Linked DNA regions of Homo sapiens: region 1 is linked to region 2. Evidence: promoter capture Hi-C in human tissues and cell types (Jung and others, 2019). All regions are on one chromosome and are shown on one strand. The core of a region is centred on a gene start or on the middle of the fragment in contact, and the rest is flanking DNA. Distances in the headings are between cores, read along the strand shown.

The links. The method cuts DNA at HindIII sites, captures the fragments that hold promoters and counts their contacts. A contact is called where the count stands out against the background at its distance.
Region 1: a contact is called between a fragment that was not itself captured here and the fragment with the promoter of OPTC in region 2, in 1 of the 25 tissues and cell types used here (IMR-90 fibroblasts).

What each region holds. Positions count from the first base shown.
Region 1 is chr1:203,436,141-203,441,292 of GRCh38, forward strand. No RefSeq gene overlaps it. Among named protein-coding and RNA genes, the nearest start is that of BMNCR, 31 kb to the left of the region's middle. RefSeq lists an enhancer at 4,799-5,008. The HindIII fragment of the contact is 7,865 bases long and covers 1-5,152 here.
Region 2 is chr1:203,490,848-203,496,289 of GRCh38, forward strand. It overlaps OPTC (opticin), which reads left to right and starts at 3,306. Exons shown (of 8, transcript NM_014359.4): 1 at 3,306-3,370; 2 at 5,118-5,389. The coding sequence starts at 5,159. It overlaps PRELP (proline and arginine rich end leucine rich repeat protein), which reads left to right. Exons shown (of 3, transcript NM_002725.4): 3 at 1-505. RefSeq lists an enhancer at 613-1,411 and a silencer at 2,799-3,027. The HindIII fragment of the contact is 22,199 bases long and covers 1-5,442 here.

The DNA.
Region 1 (5,152 bases), core at 1,310-3,809, 55 kb before region 2:
AAAACTACTGTAAAGTTCATATGGAACCAAAAAAGAGCCTGCATTGCCAAGACAATCCTAAGCCAAAAGAACAAAGCTGGAGGCATCATGCTACCTGGCTTCAAACTATACTACAAGGCTACAGTAACCAAAACAGCATGGTACTGGTACCAAAACAGAGATATAGACCAATGGAACAGAATAGAGCCCTCAGAAATAATACCACACATCTACAGCCATTTGACCTTTGACAAACCTGACAAAAACAAAAAATGGGGAAAGGATTCCCCATTTAATAAATGGTGCTGGGAAAACTGGCTACCCATATGTAGAAAGCTGAAACTGGATCCCTTCCTTACACCTTATACAAAAATTAATCAAGATGGATTAAAGACTTACATGTTAGACCTAAAACCGTAAAAACCCTAGAAGAAAACCTAGGCAGTACCATTCAGGACATAGGCATGGGCAAGGACTTCATGTCTAAAACACCAAAAGCAGTGGCAAAAAAAAGCCAAAATTTACACATGGGATCTAATTAAGAGCTTCTGCACAGCAAAATAAACTACCATCAGAGTGAATAGGCAACCTACTGAATGGGAGAAAATTTTTGCAATCTACCCATCTGACAAAGGGCTAATATCCAGAATCTACGAAGAACTTCAACAAATTTACAAGAAAAAATCAAACAACCCATTCAAAAAGTGGGCAAAGGATATGAACAGACACTTCTCAGAAGAAGACATTTATGCAGCCAACAGACACATGAAAAAATGCTCATCATCACTAGCCATCAGAGAAATGCAAATCAAAACCACAATGAGATACCATCTCACACCAGTTAGAATGGCGATCATTAAAAAGTCAGGAAACAACAGGTGCTGGAGAGGATGTGGAGAAATAGGAATACTTTTACACTATTGGTGGGACTGCAAACTAGTTCAACCATTGTGGAAGACAGTGAGGCGATTCCTCAGGGATCTAGAACTAGAAATACCATTTGACCCAGCGATGCCATTACTGGGTATATACCCAAAGGACTATAAATCATGCTGCTATAAAGACACATGCACACATATATTTATTGAGGCACTATTCACAATAGCAAAGACTTAGAACCAACCCAAATGTCCATCAATGATAGACTGGATTAAGAAAATGTGACACATATCCACCATGGAATACTATGCAGCCATAAAAAGGATTAGTTCATATCCTTTGAAGGGACATGGATGAAGCTGGAAACCATCATTCTGAGCAAGCTATTGCAAGGACAGAAAACCAAATACCTCGGGTTCTCATTCATAGGTGGGAATTGAACAATGAGAACACATGGACACAGGGTGGGGAACATCACACACCGGGGCCTGTCGTGGGGTGAGGGGAGCGGGGAGGGATAGCATTAGGAGATATACCTAATGTAAATGATGAGTTAATGGATGCAGCACACCAACATGGCACATATATACATATGTAACTAACCTGCATGTTGTGCACATGTACCCTAGAACTTGAAGTATAATTAAAAAAAAAAAAAAAAGAAGAAGAAGAAGAAGAAGAAAAGAAAGGTCAGGCCGCTTAGAGCAACAAGCCCCTCCTGATTTACAAGATTCGGTCCGCGCTGCGAGTTTTGGGATTCCACCGAAATCCTTTGGCCCATCCTGCAGTGGCTTGGCACCGGGTTTGTTTTCCAGGCAGATTGCCTCCACCTGCCCTGGAATTTTTCTGGCAATGAGGCCAGCACAGTCAAGGAGAGGGGTCTGGGAGAAGGAGAGCTAGTAGCACCCACCCTGTGGAATGGCAGGAGGCTCTACAGGTCCCTTTGGCATTTGTCAGAGGAGCTAGGAAGGCGGCCTCAACTTCCACCTGTCCCCTCATCCTACTTCTCCCGGGAGCAGGCAGCTGGGTCAGCCAGCCATCAGGATCCAATACAGACTCACCCTAGCTGTTTGGTTTCAGTCTGCCCAGGACGGCAGCTGGAGCTGCGGTGTGGTGGGCAGAGATAAGGTCTCCGCCAGAGGCGGGCATTGAGCAGGGCTGAGATGTCTGGGCGGGAATGGGATGTGGGAGGGGCCACCCTAATATGCGGGATATCATCAGTCCGCTGCCCATCTGAAAAGAAAAGACAGGGACAGGGGCACAGAGAGAGGGGTGGGGGTAGTTCTAAAAGCCCAGGGGAAGGAGAAAAGGAGGAGAAATCAGGATATTGAAGAAAAAATAAACAGATATGGTGGAAAAAGAAGGGAAGAAGGAAAAAAATATTTTTGCATCCTCCTGGAAAGCAAAACAGAGAAAATAACTTCATTCCTAAATTGCAGTAGGAAGTATTGGGCTAGATGGGAGGAAGAAGAGAGGCCCTACCTAACTTTTATCCACTAGCCTGAGTTATACAGTGAAATGCCTTCTTTAGAAGTTCCAGGATAGGATGAAATGCTTTAGAGGGAAGAGAGGGGTCAGCCCTAAATACATGCAGGGAAGTGGGCCAAAAGACCTCTGAGAGGCCCTTCTAAGTAGACCTTAAGATTTTCTAAGAGGGAAAAGACAGAGAAGGCAAAACAACTCTAAGAACCAGAGGAAGGGGCAGAACTGACATTTATTGAGAGCCACCATATCAAGCACAGGGCTGGGCACGCTGCAGACATTATCCCATCTGTAATTCACACTCCAGCCCTCCAAAGTAGGTGCTATTTCTCTGTTTCACAAGTGGGTAATTTGAGTAATATACAAGGCTCTCTTAGTTGAATGGCAATTAAGTAGCAGAATCAGGATTTGAACTCAGGTTTGACACAAATATCCATGGTCTTTCTACCAGGCTCCTTCTTGGGAATGGGCAGTTGGAGGATTCTTACTGGTGGTAGAGGAAGCTGAAATGGTATAATGGAGAGAAGACTGAACCTCAAAGACCAAGGTCAAACAACTGGATCCAACAAGTAAATGATGTCCTGTGACCTTGGACAAATAATTTCCATATCACAGTCTCAGTTTCCCATCTTATAAAGTGAGGGTGGGGGCTAGATGCTCTCTAAAGCCTTTTCCACCTCTGAGCATATGGAATTTAGCTGGAAACTGACTTCCCATTTACTACTGTAGCTTCTCATTTCCTACTGCTGGTATTATGTAATCTTCTGGGCATAAGCTCTAGGTGTGAGAACCGTTCCTGCAGCCTGTTCAAGATTGAAGTCAAGACTGGAAATTATAATGACATTGCCTTAAGTGAGTTTGATCAATGAATAAGTAGTTAACCAAATAAAGAAATAATTCTTTATTAAGCCTCCCATGTGCCCGGTGTGATGTTTAACTGATAATACAAAGGAGAATTGGACTTGATTCTTCAGCTCCAAGGAATTTACAGGCTAATCAGAAATCCACACCCACAAAGGATGTTTGCCAAGTGTGATCAGAAATCACTAACATCTTATGGAAAAGCTTTGAAAGCCATGGCTGCATCAGCCTGCCTCTCCCACTTAGAGACGGGAAAGTTTATGTGAGCCAGGGTCGAGGCTGTTTGGGACTGTGTGATCTCTGTTTTGACGGCTGTGCTTTGCCTCCCTTGATGCTGGCTGCCTCTCACACATTGCTGAAGCCGTAGTTAATTGTCTCTGACTGTAATCGATCATCTCGGAGTGGGGAATCTGGTGCACTGGAACATGACCAGTCTAGGACCATGACCATGGTTCAGTCTAGGACCTGTCTAGGGGGAGACAGACCAGGAATAACAATTCATGGGGATGGCATGAGCATGCGGCAAGCAGAGAGAGGCATGTTGCACTTAGGAACAGTGACCAACCTGACTTCAGAAGGTGAGGTCCTCGCAGGAGAGACCACTGGTGTCAGGAGAGATCAATGGTGTCAGGAGGAGCTGGAGAGACAGGGAGAGGTACAGGTGGAGGCCTTCCTGGCAGAGGGGAGGAGAGTTGTTCACAGGCCTGGAGGAGAGAGAGCAAGGGTCTTGTCCCATGGATTGCAAATAAATGCTTGAGTCAGCTGGAATAGAGGACCAGGGTGCTGTGGGAAGAGGCAGTAATGAAGGGTGGGCAGAGCCAGATGAGAAGGATCTTGCGAGTGAACCGGGGGGCCTGGCTTTATCCTGAGAGTAACAAAGGAGCTGTTCCCCATGCTCCTGTCTAGAACAGCCTACTGTGGACTGTCCCCTTCCTTACCTCTCCTTTTAGGGCTCTCTGCCGCACAGGATACATTCCTTTCTACTTGGCCTGGTCAAATTCCACCCATCCTCTCTGGGCCCTGTTCAGATTTTCTTTCCTCCAGAAAGCCTTCCTAAACTACCTCATTCCACTAATTCACTCAACAAATGTGTACTGAGCTCCTCCAGCAGGCCAGGCACTGTGCTAGGTGGGCCCACCCTCAGGCAGCTTGCAGGGTGCAGTGGTGCACAACCCTCACTGACATTGCCTCCTGTGATCTCTTCCACGTGCCCAGCCAAGGTGGCTGTCAAGGACACATCCATAAGCAGTCTCCTCTGTCCTCAATAGACAGCTCTTCTTCATCTCTGCATTCTGGGGCTGGCTGGCACAGTGCTGGGCACGTGGGGGTCCTCAGCCCATATTTTAGAGATGTCTGGATTTCCAGCAACATTAAACTGAGTGGAAATTTCTCCCAGCTGACACCCACTCCTTTCCCTATTCTCCCTCTGCAGAGAAGAGAGACGGAAGCTCCAGCAGAACCTTTAGCACCAGGATGCAGAAAGAGAATGAGAAAGAGGGATGGGAGGGGAGGAAATGCCTGGGCTGTGTGCCAGCCCCGCATGCCTTGAGCCAAGCTGGGAGTTCGTGGTCCTCTGTGCTCTGGAATGTGACAGGGGCTTGCCAGGGCATCGTGGAGTGGCTCCTCTGCAAGCCACTCACTCCTCACCCTGGACAGAGCTGTGCTGGCAGCTCCTCCTGGGCCTTCCTTGAAGTGCACGGGTGCCCCACGGTGGACAGAAAGCAGGCCGTGATCTCACTCCTCCTGAAGGCTTTTGTCCCATTAACTAAAGGGCTCAGAAGCCTTTGTCCCCATAGGGTGTTGTTCCTTCCCTTGCATGGAGGTGAGCCTTGGGCTCCATGGTGTAAGAATCCCATGTTAAAGCCCTTTCTCTGACATGTGACCTGGGCTCTCTGGGTTTTTGCCTGACAGCGTGGTACACTCGTCCTCAGGTCAGCCCTGGGTCCCTGTG
Region 2 (5,442 bases), core at 2,056-4,555:
GGTCCCCAGCTACGCATTCAAGGATGGATAATATACATAGCAGCACATCCTTGAGGAACTCATACCTTGGTAAAGGGAAAGAAATCCATGAATGGATACCTCTGTGTCCTAAGTGTTTGTAATAATGCTGTGTGTCAGGCCTCTGAGCCCAAGCTAAGCCATCATATCCCCTGTGACCTGCATGTGCACATCCAGACGGCTGGTTCCTACCTTAACTGATGATATTCCACCACAAAAGAAGTGAAAATGGCTGGTCCCTGCCTTAACTGATGACATTACCTTGTGAAATTCCTTCTCCTGGCTCATCCTGGCTCAAAAGCTCCCCCACTGAACACCTTGCAACCCCCACCCCTGGCCACCAGAGAACAACCCCCTTTGACTGTAATTTTCCATTACCTACCCACATCTTATAAAATGGCCCCATCCCTATCTCCCTTCGCTGACTCTTTTCGGACTCAGCCCGCCTGCACCCAGGTGAAATAAACAGCCTTGTTGCTCACACAAAGCCTGTTTGGTGGTCGCTTCACACAGACACGAGTGAAACTACTGTGTATGAACAGTATAAAGGAAAGGGCTTTTACCTCTACCTGAGGAAAACCAGAAAGACTCCTACCATGTGAGCTGGCTCTTAAGGGATAAATCAGATTTTGCCAGGTGGATGAAAGAAAAAAAGACGCCACCTGGACAGGAAACAGCATGAGTACAAAGGTAGGAAGGTGTGGAGTCTACCCTGTGGGGCTTGTGTGTCTGAAAAAGAGGAGAGGGTCATGTTCCGGTCATGGAGTGGAGTTATGTGGCTACAAGCCCTCAGCAGGGGATATACCCCTGTCATCCAAAACACAGGAGGGTTCCTGAACTTCCCCGCCTCTCTCTCCCTATCCATGAAAAGGGCAACAACAGGGTTGGCTGGTCAAACTTCTGTCCATACCACCTGCCGCCTCCGATTCATCAACACGCCTTTTGCCTCTCCTAATGAGAGATTAGGATTAGGACGCCTCCCCCGCCTCCTGCTTCCTTTGCCAGGCTCTTGGGGAGCTGGGCTGCCTGGAACAGCAGTCTGCGGGGTTAGCCGTTTCCCCCACCAGGTCACATGTACACATCCATGGACAGCCCCTAATATTCATGAGAACAAGAGTGTGTGACCTGTGAGCTTGGGAAAGCAAGAGGAGAAGTTGGGAGAGGGTCTAGGATGCGAGCCTGAGTCTGGATGTGGCTCCTGCAGGGAGTGGGGGGAGCAGGTGTGTATGCATTGGGGAGGAACGATGGTGGGGGTGTGGCAACCAAGCAGGGATGGCAGGAGCGTATGTCTCTGGGAAAGCAGGGAGGGAGAGTGGGAGCAGGCGGCAGGGAGAGTGAATGAACACTCGCATTTGCATTTCTCCCAGGAATAAATGTGTGGGGTGGGAGCGGGGAGATTGCCTAGGCTGGCTGTGGGGGTGGAGGGCCTCTGGCTGCAAAGCCCAGGCTGTGGAGAGAAGATGGAGGCATACAGCCCGCCAAATGTGCCATCTGCCTACTGGATGCCCTCCAGGATCCAGGGCTATCTTTCCCTCCACCCAGCAGAGCCTCTGATGGTGTCTTTTCCCAGGTGGGGGGCTGCCAGGGGTACAAGAACATGCTCTTCTCTGGTGACCAGGCTCTTGGGCTGAGGGAAGCCCCCTCTTGCACCAGCTGGAGCCCAGGAACACAGCAAGCCAAATGCTGCCCTCGAGGGCCAGGCTATTAGATCTGCCTCTTCACCTGGTGTGCCAGGGCAGAGATGAGTTCTGCCAAGCCATCTGCTCTGAGGGCCTGGAAACACACGGATTCAGGACTCCTGGGGAAGAAGGTGGAAATGGGGAGGGTCATATGAACTAAAGAAAACTCTCTGACCAGGGAGTCAAAAAATCTAGGCATTGGCCCTGGCTCTGTGTGACCTAGGGCAAGTCACGTCACCTCTTTGGGCCTCACTCTCCTCATCTATACCACAAGGACTTGGACTAGATCTTTAGGGGGCCTCACAGCTGGAATTCAGTATCTGGTTGGTGGAAAGGAGTAGGGAACAAGGAGAGTCACTGAGAAACCTGGGTGGGCGCCAGGGCACAGGCTGGCAGAAGCTGGGGAAGACTCCTTAGCCACCCCACCTCTGCCTTCAGCAAGGACTTGCTCGGCAGCCTGCTCGAGGCACCAAGGAAAGGGGAGTGTTTCCAGATGAATGCCGTTGGCCCTCTGTATCTGTGGGTTCCACATCCGTGGATTCAACCAACCACAGATTGAAAATATTCAGAAAAAAAAAAAATTCACAACGTTCCAAAAAGGAAAACTTGAATTTGCTGTGTGCCAGTACTATGTGGAATCCATGTGAATGGAGTGAGGTGTAAGCATTGTGTTTGGTGTTATAGGTAATCTAGAGATGATTTGAAGTACACAGGAGGATGTGCGTAGGTTATGTGCAAATTCACCATTTTATATAAAAGACCTCAGCATATGTGGATTTGGTATCCACTGGACGTGCAGAACCAATCCCCCATGGTTACTGAGGGACGACTGTACATCTCTGAGGGTGCGGGAGAGGATACTTCCCAGGCCCCCGAGACCCTACACAATGTCTACTGGTGTTTATGATCCTTTCTAGGGCCCACCTCCCAATTTCCATTTGGTTTCCTCCTAGCAGATTTAGAGAATTTCCCGTATCCTCATGATCATCATCTGTGAACTTGAAGTTGGCTTTCAAATCCGATCTCATCCCCCATACACCTTCTCTTTGAACTACCTAGGCCTGCAGCTCCTGTCTCTGGTGATTTTATTCAATTATGGTCTCTGTGCTGGCGCTCTAGGTGAGGGTGAAGTGCCTCATTTCCACCTATTTTTATCTTTGGATTCTGGCTATGAAGCTGAAGCCTTGTCACTCTCTGGCTGGAGAAAGAAGCTGCAAAGACAAGCTCTATCTCTCCATATCCCCCGACTCCAGCCTTCTCTGAGGACTCAGAATCTGAGGGATGGGGCCCCTTCCTTGCAGGGGATGGCACTCCCTGTTCCTCAAAGATGTGGCCTTATCAGGAGAGTGGACAAGGAAAAGAAAGAAGGAGCTGACAGAGTAAGAGGAGAGAGAGCAGGAGCTGGAGGTGGGGGGTGAAGCGGAAGGTGGGGGGAGAATTCTCTTTTGTCAAATACAGGAATGGGGCAGGGGACCCCCTGAGGAAAGAGGAGGGGAAACAGCTGGACATCAGAAGGAATGAGAAGTCTGATTGGTCGCAGGCCTGGCCAACTCCTTGCCCTCCCCCGGGCACCACTGTCTAACCCAAGCCCCAGTTCAGACAGCCTCCACCAGAGTCCCCACCTTTCTGGAAGCTGCAGGGCTCTCCATCCAGGATCCAGAAGCATTGAAGGGGTAAGGCTCAAGGTTGAGGCCTCTGGCCATCGGTGCGCAAATGAGGGCAAAGTGTTTGGCTGGGGCAGGGGATTGGGAAGGGAAAATGAAGAGAGTTTAGGCCTCTGGCCAAAGAAGTTGGACAAGACTTTTGGGTGGGCACTAAACTCTCTTAGAAAAATTTTTTTTGAGATTATGTAATTCGTTTGGGGTGAGGTATGGGAGGTAAGGTGAAGAAACACCTCTTGCTACTGCTAGAGGCTTGCCCCCTTGCCCAGCTAAAATTAAGAAAGGGTGGGGAGGTTAACTGGGCATGGTAACACACGCCTGTAGTCCCAGCTACTTGGGAGGCTGAGGCAGGAGGACTGCCTGAGCCCAGGAGGTTAAGGCTTCAGTGAGCTGAGATCATGCCATAACACTCCAGGCTGGGCAACAGAGTGACACCGTCTTAAAAATAGAAAATAAAATAAAAATTAAAAGATAAAAAAAATTTTAAAAGAAAGAAAGAGGGAGAGTCTACTAGAAACTTGTGCAGCTAGCTTTGGGGAGGGCTGTGTTAAGCCTACACTGGGTATGACTGTTGTATACACTTATGCCTGGATACAAAACCACACCACATGCATTTCCTGACCCGTCTATACATATACGAACTACATGAACATTTGTACTCACATGCATATCACATACATACGCAGGCATCTGTGTGCACACACACACAAATATACACAGGTATCTAAGGAAATTTCCAGATGCGTACACACTCATGCAATCACACACAAAGAACTCTTTTATCTGTAATAATCTGTTTCTAAAAAGCTGCATTTAGAAGTATATTTCATAAACTAACATTCTTTTTTACATTGTATGTTTCATTGTAAGTCCATGTCTCCTAAAGAGACTAGGTGCTCCTAGGAAGGGCTGTGCCTCATTCATTCTGTACCCACAGAGACAAGTCCTGTGCCTGGAACTCAATAGACACCCATAAATGTTTGTTGAGCAAATGCATGAATGGATGATCTTTATAAAAAACCACAAGAGTCAACTGGGCGCGGTGGCTCACACCTGTAATTCCAGCACTTTGGGAAGCCAGGGTGGGTGGATCACCTAAGGTCAGGAGTTCGACACCAGCCTGGCCAATATGGTGAAACCCCTTCTCTACTAAAAATACAAAAATTAGCCAGGCATGGTGGGTGCCTGTAATCCCAGCTACTCAGGAGGCTGAGGCAGGAGATTCGCTTGAACCCAGAAGGCGGAGGTTGCAGTGAGCCAAGATCGCACCACTGCACTCCAGCCCGGGAAACAAGAATGAAACTTCGTCTCAAAAAAACAAACAAACAAAAAGACCCCATAAGATTATTTGATGTTGACATTCTCTAAATCGAGCTTAGTGACTAGCAGTCATGTTCTGAGCATGGGGTTGTTTAAGAGAGGACATCTGTGTGCATGCACCAGTGTGTGCCTCGTTTGTAAACAAGGGGACTCTTGTGAATGTGTCTGTGTTGAGATGTGTCTGCACATGCCTCTGTGAGTGAATATCAGTGTTTGGGTGAGCGTGTAAAAACACTCAAGTGGGGCGGTGGAGGGAGGGGGCTGCTAGGAGATACCCCCCAAGACATAGTCCCAGCTGGTAGGGAATTTGTGCATGTGATGAGAGCACTGAGTCTGCAAGTGTGGGGGTGGGAAGTGGAGTAAATCTGCGAGCCATTCCCACAACACTCTGGAGAGCCTGTCCCTCAGATCGCTGCCCTTCCTCGTGCCCACTTGCCAGGACCAGCCGCTGAAGGGATTCTCAGTCCCATCTGACTCCCCATGAGGCTCCTGGCTTTCCTGAGTCTGCTGGCCTTGGTGCTGCAGGAGACAGGGACAGCTTCTCTCCCAAGGAAGGAGAGGAAGAGGAGAGAGGAGCAGATGCCCAGGGAAGGCGATTCCTTTGAAGTTCTGCCTCTGCGGAATGATGTCCTGAACCCAGACAACTATGGTGAAGTCATTGACCTGAGCAACTATGAGGAGCTCACAGATTATGGGGACCAACTCCCCGAGGTGAGGGACACAGCAGACCAACTACATTCCCTGCATGACACTGGGAGTCAGAG